Regions from separate parts of the Homo sapiens genome. Here regions 1, 2 and 3 are each linked to region 4. The links are contacts of gene promoters, found by promoter capture Hi-C in blood cells and fetal thymus (Javierre and others, 2016). All regions are on one chromosome and are shown on one strand. The core of a region is centred on a gene start or on the middle of the fragment in contact, and the rest is flanking DNA. Distances in the headings are between cores, read along the strand shown.

Evidence for each region. The method cuts DNA at HindIII sites, captures the fragments that hold promoters and counts their contacts. A CHiCAGO score of 5 or more calls a contact.
Region 1: a fragment that was not itself captured here is called in contact with the fragment with the promoter of C2orf68 in region 4 in 1 of 17 cell types (monocytes); the score reaches 6.6 in monocytes.
Region 2: a fragment that was not itself captured here is called in contact with the fragment with the promoter of C2orf68 in region 4 in 1 of 17 cell types (monocytes); the score reaches 5.0 in monocytes.
Region 3: a fragment that was not itself captured here is called in contact with the fragment with the promoter of C2orf68 in region 4 in 3 of 17 cell types (monocytes, erythroblasts and M0 macrophages); the score reaches 12.5 in monocytes.

Annotation. Positions count from the first base shown.
Region 1 is chr2:85,788,313-85,792,993 of GRCh38, reverse strand. ATOH8 (atonal bHLH transcription factor 8) reads right to left here. Exons shown (of 3, transcript NM_032827.7): 3 at 1,611-4,681. Among named protein-coding and RNA genes, the nearest start is that of MIR6071, 7.0 kb to the right of the region's middle. The HindIII fragment of the contact is 890 bases long and covers 2,586-3,475 here.
Region 2 is chr2:85,739,748-85,744,859 of GRCh38, reverse strand. No RefSeq gene overlaps it. Among named protein-coding and RNA genes, the nearest start is that of ATOH8, 12 kb to the left of the region's middle. The HindIII fragment of the contact is 1,868 bases long and covers 577-2,444 here.
Region 3 is chr2:85,807,316-85,811,942 of GRCh38, reverse strand. No RefSeq gene overlaps it. Among named protein-coding and RNA genes, the nearest start is that of MIR6071, 26 kb to the right of the region's middle. The HindIII fragment of the contact is 4,468 bases long and covers 511-4,627 here.
Region 4 is chr2:85,610,803-85,615,593 of GRCh38, reverse strand. It overlaps C2orf68 (chromosome 2 open reading frame 68), which reads left to right and starts at 3,528. Exons shown (of 4, transcript NM_001013649.4): 1 at 3,528-3,716; 2 at 3,808-3,926. The coding sequence starts at 3,610. It also overlaps a transcript of USP39 not described here. RefSeq lists silencers at 3,028-3,200, 3,687-3,756, 3,376-3,757 and an enhancer at 3,187-3,416. The HindIII fragment of the contact is 26,854 bases long and covers 1-4,791 here.

The sequences.
Region 1 (4,681 bases), core at 1,781-4,280, 180 kb before region 4:
TGGTGGTGATGGGCATGAAGGGGGGCAGGGGAAGATGTTAGAATGAAGAAAAAATACTAGATTTAAGTGCCAGCTGTGAGACAACCTTGGGTGAGTCACAGCCCAGAAATGTAGCACCAGGGAGTGAAGCCAGAAGGGAAAAAAGTTACAACTGCCAGAAACATGATGAACCTGTCAAAAATACATGAAATCAGCTGCATAAGTTAGGAAGTAAAAGGCAAGGTCCTGTTTGTTTTTTCATGCATGTAAGCATTTAAAAAGATTCATCAGGAATGGAAAAAATAATTCCTCTCCACACCACTGCCTTGGGTGAGGGATGTTTTGGGGAAACTGAGGAAAGGTGTGTGTGTTCCCTTGAGGGCCACAAAGTAGAGAGAAGGAGGAAGCCATAGGGAGCCCCTGAGCAAGAGATGAATTCAGTGGGCCCCAAAGATCAAAGCCAAGGATGTAAGTCCCTCGAGAATCCTCAGAGACACGGGCAATGCCGGGCTGGCTTCCCACTGAACATGGCGTGGGAGTGGAGATGTTTTTATTTATATGTGAAAAGGCAAGATGAGCCCCGAGGGCAGAAGGGCGGCCATCTAGGTTGTTGCTGCCAGGTTAAGTAGGGCCTCTCTGTCCGCCCCAGGTTCTGGGATTGAAAGAACTAGAGTTCCCCGGGGACCCAGGCGCTAGGCGGGATACAACGCCGGGTAATGTTAGGACAAAAAGAAACTGCTTCCTTTGCAGCAAACATTAAGATCAGAAAGAATCTTGTTTCATGGGCAGCCAGAGAGAAGGACACAGGGCCACGGCTGAGAAAGAGGGGCTGTTAATGATATCTCAGGATGGGATTTGGCCACCACCCCCAGACGGCCAAGCTGTGGGCATGCCCAGACAGTGGCGACAGGGAGATGTTGTGGACCTGGAGGGCACACAAGACCATCATGATGGTCAGCTAAGGAGCCTGGGCTGTAGTCTGGAGGCAATGGGCCCAGGGAGGAAGTTTGGAAATAAACCCCTATCAGCCATGGCAGAGGCAGGGTTGGAAGTCACAGACCATTGACAGAGAGGCCAGTCAGGAGGCAGCCACATGGCCCGTGAGCAACAGTGAAGTTGAAGCTCCTGACATCACCTCAAACACGCCATGCTGGGGTGGCCCGAGGAGGCTGGCCCACTCCAGGGAGGCCACGGGACCAGGGCGGCAGAGGGAGCTCATCTCTCCGATCCATTAGTAGTAACTGCTTGGAGCATTGTCTGGAGCGGAATTCAGGCAGTGTAGGAGCCCCTGGAGAAAAAGAGCCACTGTTGATTAGTGATGTCCGAGGCAGGGCTGTAAGGAGGCTTGGCGGCATTCATTCACTCATCTACACATTCAGTAACTGTTCATTCAGTGCCTGTGTGCCAGCACGTGTGCTGTGATGCTGTCCTCTTCGCTCAGTTCTCAAAGACTCGGCCACATAAAGAGCAAAAAGGTCCAAGGCCAGGCTTCTCTCGGCTCTAAGCCCCTCTCCCTTCAAGCCTCTCCGAAGCCATATAAAAGATCACCTGGCCTGGGTCCTGTTTTCCCCAGGTCTTGAACAAATTAGATGCTTGGGAGTTATTTGTGGAAGGAAGAAAACAAAAATGAGTGAATTACCACATTTTCCATGTTTTATTCATTCATTCAGCAAAGAAACCAATATATACACTTTGCAAGAAAGCCGTTTCGAGGATCAGGGGTTGAATTAGATCCAAACTTTGATCTCCAGGAATTCATAGTACCATCTGAGATTAGACACGTACCCACAGTTCTGGAAAACACTGTCATTGTTTGTCTATCAAGTTCCTCAGGATGCCTGGCTTCAGGGAGGCAGGCATAGTTTGTCTGGGGTCCGGGTCACCAGAAGGGAGACATGTGGGAGGGCAAAACCTGGGGGCAAAGGGAGAAGCCAGCTGCTCCTCACAAAGCAGGGACCCTGTGCCCCGCTGTCTTCCTGGAACCAGGAAACAGAAAGCAGCTGTGAAGGTGGCAGGGCAGCAAGAGAGCAAGACGAGAACAACGGTACAGATCCACTCAAAGGGTTTCCTTGGAGATGTCTGAGTCTTGCTGTTTGTTGCCTGGGATGCTGGCAATGACCACTTCGTGGCTCAGGAAGCAGCATAGGAGGGAGGCAAGTGTAGCCCCAACTCCAGTCCCCTCGCCGGCTTCCCACGGCTGACCACAGCGCGGCCCCTGTCTTATCCTAATTAGCTGCACCTATGCCTCCGTCCAGGCTCACCGGCAAGCTCTTGAGCACAGAGGAGCTCTGTACCTGCAGCTCCCAACACAGTCCCTGCACATGGCAATGCTACCCAGTTCCCAGCCCCTGGGACCTGCCTACTCATGCCTCCACTAGCTGTGAGAAAGGGGAACTTGGTGGAGGTGGAGAAATCCAGAAAAAAAGAGAACAGCACAGAGCCTTGAAGGATGTGGCCATGGAGACAGGAAGGAGCATAGTGTGGGGGGATGAACACTTGCTCAAAACCTCACCTCCAGAATTTAACCCTCTCTTCTGGGATAGTCTCAGGCCAGACCCAGGAAGCAGCACAGTCTGTGGGCAGTCTTTGGAGAGTCTTGCAAAGCTTGGCCTGTGAGCTGAGATCTCCAACTCCCAGAGCCATTCCTTCTGGTTTTGTTCTGCAGAGAGCAGGAGGCTGGCACACACACACATGAAGATGGGTGTGCACACGTGGGGCTTCATGCAGACATACCCAGGAAGATCTTGCGGGTCCCTGGAGAGGGCCCCCTCATCCCTTTATGGCCTGTGCCTGGTGACCCAGAGCAGACAAGACAAGGAGAGTGTGCTACAAACATCCACAGGTGACTCTGTGACCACAAACCCAAGGCTGGACTGCAAAGTGCTTTCACAGGGCCCCATGAGGGCAGCTCCTCGTCATTTATATTTTGCTGAGGGTCTCCTTGAATGGCTGCTTGCATAAAAGTGTTTAGAAGACTGCCGTTGGAATCTGAATCTATCTGAAATGTAATTCCATTTTCTGGAAATGTACACGAGTGTGTGTGTGGGTATGCATGTGCCCATGAGAGAGAGTATGCATGTGTGTGCATACGAACACAAGTTGCTGTGCTGGAGAGGAAGCTGGGAAAGGAGAGGAGAGCATGCACTTTTAGTCATCCACATACATACATATGTGTGCACACACACACATCCACCCAGAGCCTGTCTCCCAAATCGATGGCTCAAAGTCACTTTCTTATCGTAGACCAGACCCCACTTAGACCAGCGGCTTCAACCTTGCCTGCACATTAAGATCACTTGAGGAGCTTGTAAAAATCCCAATGACCAGGCAACACCCTAGACCAATACATCAGAATTTCTGGAGATGAAATTGGGCATCAATACTTCATATCAATATTTAATATTTAATAATCTCCTTGGGTGATTCCAATTTCCTGCCAGCGCTGAGTGCTCCTCTGCATAGAAAGCCCTTTTCCTACTCCCCTGCTCAGAAAGCTTTTACTCACCATTTAAGACGCAAGTCCCATGGCTACTTTCCAGGGAAATCCTTCCTGAGAACCTCCCCAAGAGTTAGTTCTTCCTTTCCTGAAGCTCCCGACAACACCTTAGTCATCTGCTATAATCATAATTATTTGCTTGTCTACCTGTCTGTCCCACCCTCCGTACAGAACCCAGAGCTCCGTGATGCCATGCATGACACAAGATCCATCTCTTCATTCCCACTGCCTATCTTAGTGTCTGACAGGCAGCTGGTCATCAATGATGCTTCAGAATGAAAGGGAAACATGTAATGAAGTATGTATGCAGGAGGGGGATGGGAGGTGGAGGATGGGCTCTTTCTGGGTGGTAAGGCCATGGGTTTGCTCCCTTGGCAGCAGAATGGGGTACACTCCCTTTGGTAATAGAAATGGTCTTCTATGTCAACAGTTTGATGCTGGTCAGTCCACATGTCCTGCTGCCTTAGGAAGTGCCATCAGGGTTACTCAGAGGCTCCGAGGGACAACAGAGCAGTGCTGTTATCTGTGCCAGCTTCACAGGGTGGCTGAACCTTCCTAACAGACCCTCCTGGCCCCATTCCATGCCCACTCTGTCCAGTCTGCTTCCAGAGCACCTTTGCTCTGAGGAGTGCTCAGGGCCACCTGGGTCCCCTGTTTCTGTGCCAGCCTAGGGATCCAAGACAGCATGGACACTGTGGTCCTTGGTAAAGGGCCAGCCTGAGAAACGCTACTGCAAGGGGGGCTCCCTGCAGCCAGCCCCAGCCCAGCCCAGGAGTCTGAGCAGCAGAGACGAGAAAGTGACACTGGTGAAACCAAGGGACAAACTGTGTCCTGTATGGCTGCAGCCTCCGGTCCCCTCCTATCCCCCTTTCCTTGGCCAGCCCTGTCCCTTCTGCCTTGACAGTGCTCTCCTATTTTTTATCTTATCACCCCTTCCCCCAGTCCCAATGGGCCTTTATTGTCCCTACCTTAGGCCCGCTGAGGTGAAGCAATGTGACAAGGCCACACAAGAGACTTTGGGCTGGGACTGGTGATGGGGCTGGAAAAGGTTTGAGAGCACAGGATTTGAAGTGAGCCCATCCTGATTCGATGACTGGCTCTGTCACCGACTGACCCTGTCTACTTGAGGCCTCAGTTACCCCATCTGTGAAACGGGGTTAATAATAGGGGCCCCTATCTCATAAATCCATGGTACAGATTGAGTGC
Region 2 (5,112 bases), core at 261-2,760, 130 kb before region 4:
TTTGGGAATGAGTGCTATAATTGATTAGCAATGTCTGCCATGGATGAAAGAAAAGGAGTGGCAGGATTCACACCATGTGTTTGCCACTCCTGGTCTAGTTCGATCCTGCCTTTTTTTTTTTTTTTTTTTTTTTTTGATGAGAGAGACTGAGTCCTGACGCCCGTTGTTGGTAGGGTTTTTCCCAGCCTTCTCAGGAATCTGACTACTGTTGGTCAGTGGCAGGTAGCCTGAATGTCTCTGAGGACTGAAGATGTCAGATCCAAAGACTGTCTCCAAAAAGCCAGAACAACTGCTGATTTTAGTTAATGCTATAAACTGCCTGTTTCCTGGAAATAATCGGTAAAATTAGTTGTCTCGTGGAATCGACTGGTCAGTTCAACCAATGTAGGTGATGTATCAGGCCCAGGTAAGCCCCAAGCCAGTGTCTACCTAACGTTAGTGCTCAGTTTGGCCAAAAAGAGTTCATGGGGGAGGCTAACCAACTATCTGAGCTCAAGACAATAGAACTCCCAAGTGGTCAACAAAGTTGTTCTAATCAGATGGATCACTGGCCGTCTGATTACTACCAGACAAGCTTGAGTCAAGGTGTTCTAGCCACCCTGGCCAGGACTCTACCTCCCTCACCATCATCTCCTCCTGCCCTTCCAGCCTGGCTTCTTTCCTTTCCCCTTTTGAGCCCGTGACAGATCCTGCTTCCTCTGCCAGAGAATCCTTCTGCAGTGGGCTGAACACCTCGAGAAAGTCTTCCTGACTGACCCTTCCAACACCTGCAGATAGTTCCACTGCCTTAGAGCCTCTCCTTCCATCTGTGACAGCTCAAAAACCATTCAGGCCACTCCTCATTTTAAAACTGAGGAAACTGAGGCTCAAGAATGGACATGGCTCACTTGATATCACACAGGAGGTAGACTGTTGACTTTAACCAATTGCCCCCCACTCAGTTGGCTCAGGTCTCCTGATTCCAACTCCAGGGTTGTGGTGGCTGCCTGGGGAAAATCCATTCTGTCTGGTTCACTGAGTTTCGTGCGTGACTCAGAACAACACAGATAACTTCTGAGGACTCCTGGAAGTGGGCGGACCTTCACTTTGGGGTGGCAAAGAACTTGACATGTGATGGGGGTGTGTGGGGGAGTGTGAGGGTGGCGTGGGTCATTGGTAAGGGGGGTAGGCTGCAGGAGAGGGCTGACCTGATATGAACCCTGGGGGGACTGCCAAGGGGCCCAGCCACTACCTCCTGGGAACAAGGAAACAAGGTAGTTTATCTCTCTGGCTTCGGAGCGTTTGTCACACTGCCCCCTGGAAGTCTACCCTGGCATCTTAGGTCCCCAACATTCCCCATCTTGAATTCAACAATCCTCTTTTGAGTGGGGCAGGGAAAACAAGCCCTTCCACAAGGAACTCGGCTAAGTGAAAAGTGGCCCTCAGCGGTGGTGGACAGAGCCCAGGCTTTGGACAAGGATGGTCCCGAATTGACCCTTGGCTCACCACCTACAAGCTGGGAGTTTGGCTGAGTTCCTTGATCTCACCGGGCCTCAGTTTCCTTGTTTGCAAAGCTAGGATAGAAAGATTACTGGCCCTCATAGGGTTGTTGTGAGGATTAAAGGGAGATTATCAATGTAAAGGGCTGAGCACAGGGCTTGGCAGATGGCAGCTAATAACTGCACCTTGAACGTCTCTCCTCTCCTCTCAGTGCAGTACCATACATGCTTCAGGGCTCTGATCCTACCACACCTCCTTCAGGAAGCCTTCCCTGGACACACTCAGCCCAGAGGAACACACTCCGCTCTTGGGAACTTCCAGGCTCACCTGCCAGTGTTCTATACTGAAAGCCTTGTTTCTCCAAAGAACCCACAGATCACTGGGGGCTGATGTGGTTTGCAGCCCTCCTTGCTCCTGCAGGCTCCCAGCTCAGAGCTGAACACACAGCACATGCTGAATAACATGGCTGCTCAAGCTCCTGGCACCCTCTCCCCGCCCCAGCCCACCTTATTCCCCCAGATCCCCTGATTTTCCAACCCCCTGTCTCATTTGTTCCTAATGCTTCTGTCTCCATGTCTCCAGAGCTCTGTTTGCATGAGGGAAAAAACTCTACATACACACACACACACACACACACACACACACACACACACACACACAGCCCAGAAAGCATCCAGTTGCTCCCGGGCTGGCTGCCAGCGATTGAGTGACCTGCAGCTTCCTCCCCAAATCACATTCCACTGGCACGGATCTTGCCCCGCCTGACGCCAGCCTCCGAACTCGCCCCCAGAGCAAACATTTCCAGTTGGCAGCTCGGCCTTGTTTTTCTGAGGCCCTGATTCGGGCTCCCTTGTAGAAAACAGAAAACAAAATGCATTGGACCAAAAATGAAATGAAATAAATTTTAAAAGGATGGAGGGCTGGGGGAAGGCATTTGCTCCAAGTCACATGGAAAAATAGAAGCTTCAGGGTGTACAAATAGCGTTTAAGAAGCAAACACACATGCTCACCATCCCCCCATCCTGCTGGCTTTGAGGCTGTGATCAATTCATTCAGGCTGCTGCCTCCCGCTAAAAGACTTACTCTGTTCTCATTCACAGCTGCGAGGGGAGGACCCGGGAGAAGGGTGGTGGGAGACCACAGATCTGAAAGGGGAGGGTGATCGGGGTTACAGGACTGTTGTTTGTTCCAAAGGGGAAATTAGAGGAAGAAAAATAAACATGGCCAGCCACATTTTAACCCCAGTGCGCGAGGAGTCCGGGGATGGACAGGGTATGTGTGTGCGTGTGCTGGCGTGTGCACATGCCTGTGGGCGCCGCCGTGTTTGCCTTCTCAAAATAAGAGCTGCTCAGTGGAAAGATGTCATAACCCAGGCTCAGGCGGCAGGGGGACGGGCCAGCCAGGGGGGGCAAGGCTGGCGCCCAGGCCTGCCCATGGGGTCAGGCAAAGGCCGGGTGTCAGAACAGGGGAGCTGTGAGTCAAGGGCCAGGCGTTTGATGCCGAAGGTCAGCCCCCAGCTGGGGCTCAGTCCATGGGGAAGAGGTGGTCCGAGGAGCATTGCTAAGAAAGGATGAGCTCATGGGATGTGGGGCTCATCTCAGCAAAGGAGGGTTGTGATGTGGGGAGGGAGGCCCCAGGGGAAGTCCATGGAGGTGGAAGGGACTAGGTGAGGTGGCAGGGTGAGGAGGAGGACAGAGAGGTGGTTAGCTGACCCCAGAGTGAGGGCAGTTGGCCACCAATCTGGCTGGGTCACAGAGCTGAGGAGCAGGGCTGCAAAGCACCTCCTGCCCAGGAACAAGGATGCTGGGAGGTGGCATGGGAAAGGAGACAGGGATCCCAGGACTGAGAGAGCATGCGGGACCTGGGCTGAGATGTAGGGTCCTTGGCCCAGGAGAGTCCCAGACGTGTTGTCAAGCATCAGGCCAGGAGTGAGTGGGCAGTCACATGAGAAGCCAGGCAGGTCCGTCAGCTTGGGAAGCCGTGAGACAGGACGAGAGCAGGCAGCTCAGAGCTGGCACCAGGACCTGTGTGGCTGGGTCGCTTCTCTATGGTGCCAGCTTCTCCATACAGGGAAGAGCCTGGCACCTTTAAGGGAGCTGGCAGTACCGAAGAGATCCCAGAGAGAGGGCCTGATGGAGTCTGCAGTGGCTGTCGGTGCTCAGCTTGATGGTCAGGGGCTCTGGAGCAGGAAGGTACACAGTCCAAGAAGGAAGATCCAGTGTCCCCCAGAGGGCGATGGCAGGACCGCCTGTGTCCTAATCACCTGGAGTATGTAATAAAATGTACCTTTCTTCCATTCTTTCTACCTGCTGGATCAGAACCCATGTGATTGGGCCACTGAGGAGCTGAACTTTAGATGGCCAGCCATGGGATTCTCCTGCACATTCAGGTTGAAGAATCCCTGCCCGAGCTGATGTTGCCAAATCCTTTGACCTTCCTGGCTCCTCTTCTCTGGCTGTAGCACTATCTATCCAGACCCTAGGAACCACAGGACTTTCCACTTTCCCTTTACCACGATCTTCAAGGACAGTAGTCAACAAACCTTTCCCAAGGGTATTTTGACTTTGATTCCGAAACTTTGTAAACCCAAAGAAATGAGTCTCTAATGGTGGAAATTCAGGCCTGGAGAAAGCCAGTAAAAGAATCTTGGAGAGAACATGGGGTGCCTTCCAACTAACCCTCAAATTCGCTGTGTATCTGGGAGGCCCCAAAGACAGTTTTTAAAAAAACGTGTTTCCTTAATTGATCAGTTCTCAGAATAGTGACTTGGTTCTTTTTTGTTGTCATTTTGAATTCTTGGATTTTACAATATTTGATGTGTTTCAGCTCATTGCAGGATTTTTGTATGTTTGTTTTGGTTTGTTTTGGGATGCACAAATAATCCCATTTTATCCAGTGGGAGCTCCTTCAAGTTGGCACCTGAGTCCTTTTGACATGCCCCTCGTGGTGTTTGGTCACTTTCTCGCTTTCTGGTTCAGGATGTTCTGGGCTCATCTTGTGTATTTGTTGCCCCAGACCTGGAAACAGGCAATTCTCCAAGAAGCCTTGGTTCCCTTCAGTGAGAAAAGATACTTAGAGACCACAGTTTGGGCACTATACGTGCTCAACCAGAGACAGCTTCTTTTCTTTTTGTTTCTCAATCTTCTCGAATAACTTGAGTCTGGGCCAAGTGCATCTGAAGGACACCACACTCTGCCCCATTAAGTGTGTTTCTCCTGGATCCCAGGTTGTCTCTTCCTTGGAGGTAAGCTCTGCCCACCTGAAGCGGCCTCCTTCCTTTTACTTCCCTCCCCAGAGATTAACCTCAGTCTCCAGGGCTGGTCCATCAGCCCCAAAAGCCCACCATCTCTCTTGGGTGTGTACTGGAATATGAGGTGCACCGAGAGAGTTGCTTACCTCTCTATGCCGTAGCTTCTTCATCTGCAAAGTGAGGTTTTAAGGATTTTATTTTATTTTTCTTCTTTTAGAGTTAGGGTATCATTCTGTCACCCAGGCTCTAGTACAGTGCCACAATCACAGCTCACTGCAACCTCCAACTAGTGAGCTCAAGTGGTCCTCCCACTGCAGCCTCCCAAGTAGCTGGGACTACAGGTGCACACCACCACGCCTGGCTAATATTTTAATTTTTTTTAG
Region 3 (4,627 bases), core at 1,495-3,994, 200 kb before region 4:
ATTTTACAGATGAGGAAATAGAGGCCCTTGCCCACAGTACAGTCATAGTGCTGCCAAGTGGGGAGCCGGGTTCCCACCCAGGCCTGCCTAACTCCCAAGCCCAGGCTCTGAGGATCCAGCATCCGACAGCTGCATCTTTCTGCAGGGGAAGGGGCCTGGGCCATGCAGAGTGTGTGGTTTATGGACCACAGGGATTTCTGAACCCAACTTTGGGCGCATGTGTGCCTGGCACGTGGGGGCAGGAGAAAAGCTTAGTTCCTCCCGCCGAGCCTCAGCTCACACACTCCGCAGACCCTCCTGCGCCCACACCCAGGAATCTTGGTTTTAGGCGACACATCGTGATGCCTGCTAAAAGCAGAGCAGGGAAAAGGAGCCCTTAAACAGTCCAAATGTGTCCCTCGCCGCGCCTGATTTTCCCAGAGCCCCGGCGCGCCCAGACAGAAGTTGTGTACACAGGATTTTAGTATTTCCTCTCCGGCTCCAGCCCCAATTTGAGGGCCTGTAAAAGCTTGAATGGCGTCCAGTGCGGCGTGGTTTGCCTAAGCTCGGCTCCCGGCGCTGAGTCAAAGCAGCCCACACAGGGACCGGGGCGCCTGCTAGGGGGGTGGGGGGCGCCTGCGGGGGCGGGGGGAGGCCGGGGGCGCCCACACCCACGTCCAGGCCCAGCCGCCGCCTTCCAGCCGCCGGGGCTGGCCCTGCTGCGGCTGAGCAAACCTGGTGACTCGGGGTACACTCGTGGCGGGAGGCAAGGACGTGGTTGCATGACCCCTTTCCTCCCCCTGCGCCTGGGAACCTCTCCCACTTCATTGGGGTGGGGGCGGGGGGTGCTCCGTGTGGCTCAGAGGCTGCTTCAGATGTCTTCTCTGAGGCTGAGAGGCTCTTCCAGTCCCTGATTTTTAAACATGCCTCCAGCACCCCTCTCCCTGCCAGGAATCATCCAGTACAGTGCCCAGACTGACCTGCTGTGTGAGTCTAGGTAATTCACTCACTCTCTCTGGGTCTCAGTTCCCTCATCTGTAAAACCAGGGCGGGCCTGGGCTCCGTCTCTGGCTCCTGCCAGACCCAGCACCTTGGAGTCTAAGAAGATTAGGAGCCACCTGGGCTGCAGATAAGGTGCCCATGCTCTCTGGAGGGGACAAAGGTTGGTGGGGGTTGGGGGATTTTCTCCAGGGGCTGTGACACCACGACACCCACAACCAGCCAGTAACGGGAGGAGTGTGTTTCAGGGTCCAGCAGATCTAGGGGCAAGTGGCCAGGTGTGAAGGTGACAGCTGGGGAAGCTCTGAGCCCCTCACTCTCAGGAGCCTGGGATCCCTGGCACCCTGAGGCGCAGTGGCCTCTTGTCCACACAACCCATGGGTCAGACAAGGCCTGGGCCTGGCACCCGAGGAGTCACGGTAGGCACATTCGGCCATGCTGCACAGCCTCTGCTCTGCAATTCCCAGATCCAAAAGCTCGGAAAACCAGCCGTGCGTGCATGCGTGTGAGCACGTGTGTAATGTCTAGGGCTAAATCTGACCTGAACAGAACTCATTTGGTGACTTGAAGTGACACAAGATAATTTTAGTCTGTATTTATCTCACTCCTTGGGAGTATTTATACCTTACATTTGTGAATATTAATTACATTAAATGTGTTTGATGACAGGGTCTGCCCCACATCCTGTTGGGGGAGGGAGAGTTACCTAATAAACACCACAACCCTAGACAACTTTTCTAACTCCCCTTTAAAAAAAAATACACATCTTTGAAACTTCCTGGCCCCAAGGGTTTCTGATAAAAAGCTGTGGACCAGTGTAAACGATAAAAGTGACAGAGCCAGAGAAATGTCAGTGGCAGTGATTCAGGTGGTTCTTCATGTATTCCATGCAATGACACTCTGGGGGATGGGATCTGCTGGCCCCTCAGCCCATCGGGAACATGTTGCAGGACTAAGAGTGACTTAGGTGTTTAAATATACGAATGCTTATGATCCCCAAAGCAGATTTCTTTATGGGTGGCTGAAGGGATTTTTTTTTTTTTTTGAGACATGGTCTCAGTCTGTTGTCTAGGTTAGAGTGCAGTGGCACAATTATGGCTCACTGTAGCCTCAAGTTCCCAGGCTCAAGCAATCCTCCCACTTCAGCCTCCCGATGAGCTGGGACAGGCGCACACCACTATGCTCAGCTAATTTTTGTATTTTTTGCAGAAAAGAAGACTCACTATGTTGTCCAGGCTGGTCTCGAACTCCTGAGCTCAAGTGATCCATCCGCCTCTGCCTCCCAAAGTGCTGGGATTACAGGTGTGAGCCACCGTGCCCAGCCAGGATTCTTTTGGTCTCATTTTGTAGTAATTACAGATCCATAGAAAGGTGCAAGGAAATGTACAGGAAGGTTCCATGCACCCTTCACCCAGACTCTGCCAATGTCTTGATAAATTACCATAGGACCATATCAAAACCAGGAAACTTGGTATAGTCCTTAGAATGTATCCGGATTTCACCAGATATATGTGCACTCATGTATGTGTGTATGTGTCTGGGTGTGTGTTGCTCTTTGCAATTTTATTATATGTGTAGCTTTGTGTAATTTGTCTTTGACCCTGTTAACAGGATCTGTTGCAGAGCAGAAGTTTTTCATATAGGATTTTTTAATGAGGCCCAAGTTATCAATTCATGATCCATGTTGAACCAATTTTCTTTTGTGGATCATGCTTTTGGTATCAGGAATAAAAACCCTTTGTCCAGCCCCAGATTCCAAAGATTTGCCCTTATGCTTTTTCAAGTTTTATAGTTTTGTAAAGTCCATTTACGTTTGTGATCCATTTTGAGTTAATTTTTGTATGGGGTATGAGGTTAATTTGAGGTTCATTTTTAGCCAATGGCTATCTCCAGTGGCTGGAGGGATTCTAAGAGCCATTTTAACCACTCTGTCTTTGCTTTAAGAACACTACTTTCAGGTGAAAAAAAGGAGGCCCAGAGAACTAAGACAACTTTCCCAAGGTCACTGTGGTTGTCATGAATGCATTCCCTACTCTCTGTCTTCCAGGCCCGTGGTAAGATCACACTCAGGGCCCCTCTGTGGTAGGGCAGGGCCATGAAACTGGCCCTGGCCAATTTGTTGTGAGCAGAAATTATGTGAGTTTCTCCCAAATCAGGGCATTTAAATGTCATAGTGAGGCTGGACACAGTGGCTCACCCCTGTGATCCCAACAATTTGGGAGGCTGAGGTGGGCGGATCACTTGAGGCCAGGAGTTTGAGACCAGCCTGCCAACATGATGAAACCCCGTTTCTACTAAAAATACAAAAATTAGCTGGGCATGGTGGTGCATGCCTATAATCCCAGCTACTCTGTAAGCTGAGGCAGGAGAATCTCTTGAACATGAGAGACAGATGTTGCAGCGAGCTGAGATCACGTCACTGCACTCCAACCTGGGCCATTGAGTGAATAAGAGACTGTCTCAAAAAATAAATAAATAAATAAATAGTAAGGAAATGCCACAGTAAACCCTCCAGATCTCTTCTTTCCCTCTCTCATAGCAAGCAGCAAGTTAGAAATGGTGGCTGCTCCATCAGCCTGGATCCCAGAGTGGAGAGACATGGAGCAGAGCCCCTGTGAACTGACGATGGACATTCAGAGTGAACAAGAAATACATCTTCGTGTTTAAGCAATTATACTTGTCGGGGCATTTGTTACCACGCATGACTCAGCTTATCACCAAGTTGGATTTTGGAAGAATCCAGGTCCTCCTCGTTCCACGGTAAATGCACTTTGCTAGGAGTTTTCATATGACCTTCCCATCTGTCCTCAAGAGTCCTCATGGCTTACTATCATGTGCCACAAGAAGAGACCAGCAAGATGGGTTAGATGGCTTTCCAGGAGCCTTCTGTGCTACCAGAATACCAGGCTGTAGACAGCCTCTGTTCCCAGGACCTCTGTGCCAGCTCAGCTCAGAAACGGTCAGTAGGGAACTCAGTGATGGTGCTCTCGTCCCACTCTGCTTAGCACTAGCCACTGCCCCCACCCAGGGCCTGGATCTACTTCAGAGGGCCCCTCTGGGATGGACAGGGATGAACTGGGACCCACTGAGGCAGAGGCCTGGAATGGGAGTGGGGAAACACAGTGGGGCTTCATAGTGTCAGGTCCAGAAGGCAGGATGTCTGAATTCGTGCCATGCACCAGGAGTTCCTATGGCAGAAGATACACCATCTCTGGCCATGTTTGGGGACATGCTTCTGCCTATCAATATCTATTTCCCCTTCTTCCTTGTAACAAACCCAATTCATTTGGAATGGAAATGGGCCTGGTCCCACAAAGAGGCTCCACTGAGCATGACAAGCCTGTTCCTCAGTTCCCCAGCCCCCTTGCACCCAGGATAGGGCCATAAGATATAGGTGGAAGCTGGCAGGGGGTGGGGTGCAAATGTCAAGTAAAACTGGTTTCCTGACAAAAGGGTGCAGCTGGTATGGCCCTCTCTTTCCACCTTTCTGCCTCTTGGTTTTCTTTTAAACACAGACACGATACTTAGAGTTGTACCAACCACATTAAGACCATGAGGAGAGGCCATAAGAATCTCAGAGTTGTCGAGTTACCACAGCAAAGTCAGCAACCACCATTTACTGATTTCTTATTATGAGAAAAAGGCACCC
Region 4 (4,791 bases), core at 2,279-4,778:
AGGTCGTTTCCCACAGTCTCCGCGGCTTGGGGGCTGACAATCCTGCACAGGAAAACTAGGCGACATTCCCAAATCATCCCCTTGACAGCCCTAATTCTACTTTTAGAAGGTTCTTGGTACCATGAAAACGCAAATGCCCGGTAAAGGCAGATTTACCATGAAGCTAATAAAGCTCTAACCTCAGGACCTGCCTTGAACTTGTTTGCTTGTTTGAACCGTTCCATTGAGGTATAATTGACATACAACAAACTACATGTTTAAAGTGTGCAATTTAGGCCAGGCGCTGTGGCTCATGCCTATAATACCAGCACTTTGGGAGGCCAAGGCGGGCGGATCACCTGAGGTCAGGACTGGAGACCAGCCTGGCCAATATGGTGAAACCCCATCTCTACTAAAAATACAAAAATTAGCCGGGCGTGGTGGCACGAGCCTGTTAACCCAGCTACTTAGGAGGCTGAGGCAGGAGAATCGCTTGAACCCGGGAGGCGGAGGTTGCAATGAGCCGAGATCGCCCCATTGCACTCCAGCCTGGGCAACCAGAGTGAAACTCTGTCATACCCACACCACACCACACCACACCACACCACACCACACCACACCACACCACACCACACTGTGTGCAATTTACTGAATTCTGACTTGCGGTATATGTCAGAGGCGTTTCAACCAGACCAACTCCATCTTGAGTGAGGGTTAGGAAAATGAGGCTGGGCCTTGACAGGCTGCATTCCCAGGAAGTTAGGTATTCCTAGCCTAGAGATGTCTACAGTTAAGGGAACAGAGAGATAATGTTTACTAAACAGATCCAGACTTGGGAGTGTCCTAATATCCCAATATCTGGAGAATAAAGGCATTCCTAATTTTGCTTTAAAGATAATATTTCTTCTTGCAAAATATAATAATAAAATTAATCCTTTATCACAAACCCTTGTAGCAGAGCACATCTCCCCATGATCTTTTTATCCTATATATAAACAAGCATTGTAGCCATGGTGGATGCGTTCCTCCTTTTACTTTCAGGAACGCCCTATTCTGTCAATGGAGTAGCTGTACTTTCACTACTTTACATTTTATTTTTTTGATACAGAGTCTTGCTCTGTCACCCAGGTTGGAGTGCATTGGTGAGATCTCGGCTCACTGCAACTTCTGCCTCCTGGGTTCAAGTGATTATCCTGCCTCAGACTCCTGAGTAGCTGGGATTACATGCACCTGCCACCATGCCCGGCTAATTTTTGTATTTTTAGTAGGCACAGAGTTTCACCATGTTGGCCAGGCTGGTATGGAAGTGCTGACCTCAAGTGATCCGCCCGCCTCCCCTTCCAAAGTGCAGGGATTACAGGCATAAGCCGCGACACCTGGCTACTTTACTTTCTTAATAAACTTGCTTTTACTTTGCACTGTGGACTCACCCTGAATTCTTTCTTGCACAAGATCCAAGAACCCTCTGCTGGGGTCTGAATAGGGATCCCTTTCCTGTAACATATACACCCATGAAGCCATCACCACAATCAAGAGACGGGATCTGGGCCCAGTACGGTGGCTCACACTTATAATCCCAGCACTTTGGGAGGCCTGAGGCAGGAGGATCACTTGAGGTCAGGAGTTCAAGACTAGCCTTGGCAACATAGAGAGACCCCCCCCATCTCCACAAAAAAATTTTAAAATTAGCTGGGCATGGTGGCATGCTATTCAGGAGGCTGAGGCAGGAGGATCGTTTGGGCCTGAGAGGTGGAGGCTGCAGTGAGCAGTGATTGCACCACTACAATCCAACCTATGCGACAGTGAGATCCTGCCTCAAAAAAATAAAAAAATAAAAAAAAATTTAAAGAATCTACCCAGCCCCAAAGATATCCTCTTCCTCCCAGAGAACCCCCACAAAAATCAACTGATCTCTCGGTCACTATAGATTAGTTTGCACTTCCTAGAGTCTCATATAAATGGAATCATACAGAGTCCCTGGCCTCTTTCACTGGGCATATTTATTTTATGATCCATCCATGTTGTTGAGCTACAGATCTTCCTTTGGATTGCTCAGTAATATTCCATCGTGTGGCTGGACCACCATTGGTCCCTGTTTTTTGTTTTTGTTTTTTGTTTTTTGATTTGGAGGTTGGACTGCAGTGGCTCGATCTCGGCTGACTGCAACCTCCGCCTCCCGGGTTCAAGCGATTCTCCTGCCTCAGCCTCCCAAGTAGCTGGGATTACAAGCACCGGCCATCAAGCCCAGCTAATTTTTTGTATTTTTTTTTAGTAGAGACGGGGTTTCACCATTTTGGCCAGGCTAGTCTCGAACTCCTGACCTCTTGATCTGCCCGCCTGGGCCTCCCAAAGTGCTGGGATTACAGGCGTGAGCCACCACGCCCGGCTCTTTCTTTCTTTTTTAATGTATTTTTTTCTTGTAGAGACGATGTCTCGCTGTGTTGCCCAGGCTGGTCTCAAATTCCTCCCTCCAGCGATACTCCCACTTCGGCATCCCAAAGTTTTGGAATTACAGACATGAGCCACTGCATCCAGCCGTTTGTCCCTGTCCTAATCATGAATTCCTGATTTTGACTTTTGTAAAAGGACTTGAGAATTTTACACGCTGTGACGTGAACCCAGTGGTCAGAAAAAATAGAAAAAAAAAAAAAAGGGGCCGGGCACGGTGGCTCATGCCTGCAATCCCAACACTTTGGGAGGCCGAGGCAGGCGGATCACCTGAGGTCAGGAGTTCGAGACCAGCCTGGCCAACGTGGTGAAACCTTATCTCTACCAAAAATACAAAACTTAGCCGGGCGTGGTGGCACGCGCATGTAGTCCCAGCTACTCGGGAGGCTGAGGCAGGAGAATCGCTTGAACCCGGGAGGCGGAGGTTGCAGTGAGCCGAAATCACGCCAATGCACTCCAGCCTGAGCGACAGAGTGAGACTCCTTCTCAAAAAGAAAAAAAAAAGGAAAAATAAATAAAAAAGAAAATAATACACCCGTAGGTCCCTCAAAAACCCTGGGTCCTCCCGCGGGGACAGTTAAGCCATCGGCGCCGTGAGCAGGAGGCAAGCCGGGCCAGGAGAGCCTTCGCGGCGCCTGCGGCCTGGGCGCCGCTGTTGCCCTGCCTGAGCACTTCAAGGCCTCACAATCCATTTGAGGTAGGTGCTCTAGGTGTTCCCATTTACTAATGAGGAAACTGAGAAGTGGCAGCGTTACACAGTCAGCCAAAGTCACGCAGATGGCGATGGATTGCACAGCATCCTATTACCAGAAAAAAGATGGGAAGGCACCGCCGTAAGCATCGAGTTGTGTTATAGATGATTTGCATTTTTCTGAAGGTTCTGGTATCAGCTGTAAGCCGAAGTCCTTGTTTCCTATTGATATGTTACGAAAAAACAAACAAAAAAAAACAAAAACAAAAGCCCTCCGTCCGGGGGGTGGAAGTCAAGCATACCCTACTCCACCCGACCCGACCAGACCCGAAAACTCCGTGCGCTGCATCGCTTGGCCAGGCCGGGGCCTCCCAGACCGGAAGTCAGGATGCGGGGCCGGAAGCTGAGCAAGGGGCGGCGCGGAGCTCTGTGGGCGGGTGGCTGTTGTTGGGGCCGTCGAGGCGGCGGCGACTCTGCGTCCCCGGCTCCTGATGGAGGCGGGGCCGCATCCCCGGCCGGGGCACTGCTGCAAGCCTGGGGGGCGGCTGGACATGAACCACGGCTTCGTGCACCATATCCGACGGAACCAGATCGCTCGGTACCGCCCCGCCCTGCGCCGCCGCCGCCACCACTCCTGGCCTGGCCTGGCCCGGCCCGACAGTCCCTGACTCCCGCTCGGCTCCCCGCAGGGACGACTATGACAAGAAGGTGAAGCAGGCGGCCAAGGAGAAGGTGAGGAGGCGGCACACGCCCGCGCCGACGCGGCCCCGCAAGCCAGACCTGCAGGTGTACCTGCCGCGACACCGAGGTGAGGCCGCCCGCCCCGCCTGCCTCCAGCCCGCGCGCTCTTCCTGCAACGCACTCCCCTTCTCTATAGGGAAAAACCACTTCTTACTCCTAAGGTTCAGCTCATCTCGTCTCTTTCCGGAACCTCCACCTCAGCGCTCCCAAATCTCCGCTGAATGATTCTCACCAAGAACTGGGACGACTCATAAGCCCCCAGTTAAGCATCGCTGTCAGAGTATCGGGGAGCCAGCAAGAAGTTTATCTGCCGGTTTGCCCCACCGTGCTGTATTTTAGTAAGGTGCTCCGCTACCTAGCAAAGAGAAAGTCTGGCACAGCGATGAGCGACCAGCACATAATTGCGGAATGAACCCAGTAAATGGCCTTTCCCCAGCTTCTCTGCTACCTAGAGATCACACTGGTTAATATATGACGGTCAATTTTTGTTAAGCATTATTACTTTTTTTAAAATGTTTTTATTTTATTTTTGAGACTAGGTCTCTGTCGCCCAGGCTGGAGTGCAATGGTGCGATCTGGGCTTACTGCAGCCTTAGCCTCCCGAGTACCTGGGACCACAGGCGTGTGCCACCACACCGGTTAATTTTGGTATTTCTTGTAGAGAAGGGGTTTCCCCGGCTGGGCGCGGTGGCTCTCGCCTGTAATCCCAGCACTTTGGGAGGCCGAGGCGGGCGGATCACGAGGTCAGGAGATCGAGACCATCCTGGCTAACATGGTGAAACCCCCGTCTCTACTAAAAATACAAAAAATTAGCCGGGCGTGGTGGTGGGCGCCTGTAGTCCCAGCTACTCGGGAGGCTGAGGCAGGAGAATGGCGTGAACCCGGGAGGCGGAGCTTGCAGTGAGCCGAGATCGCGCCACTGCACTCCAGCC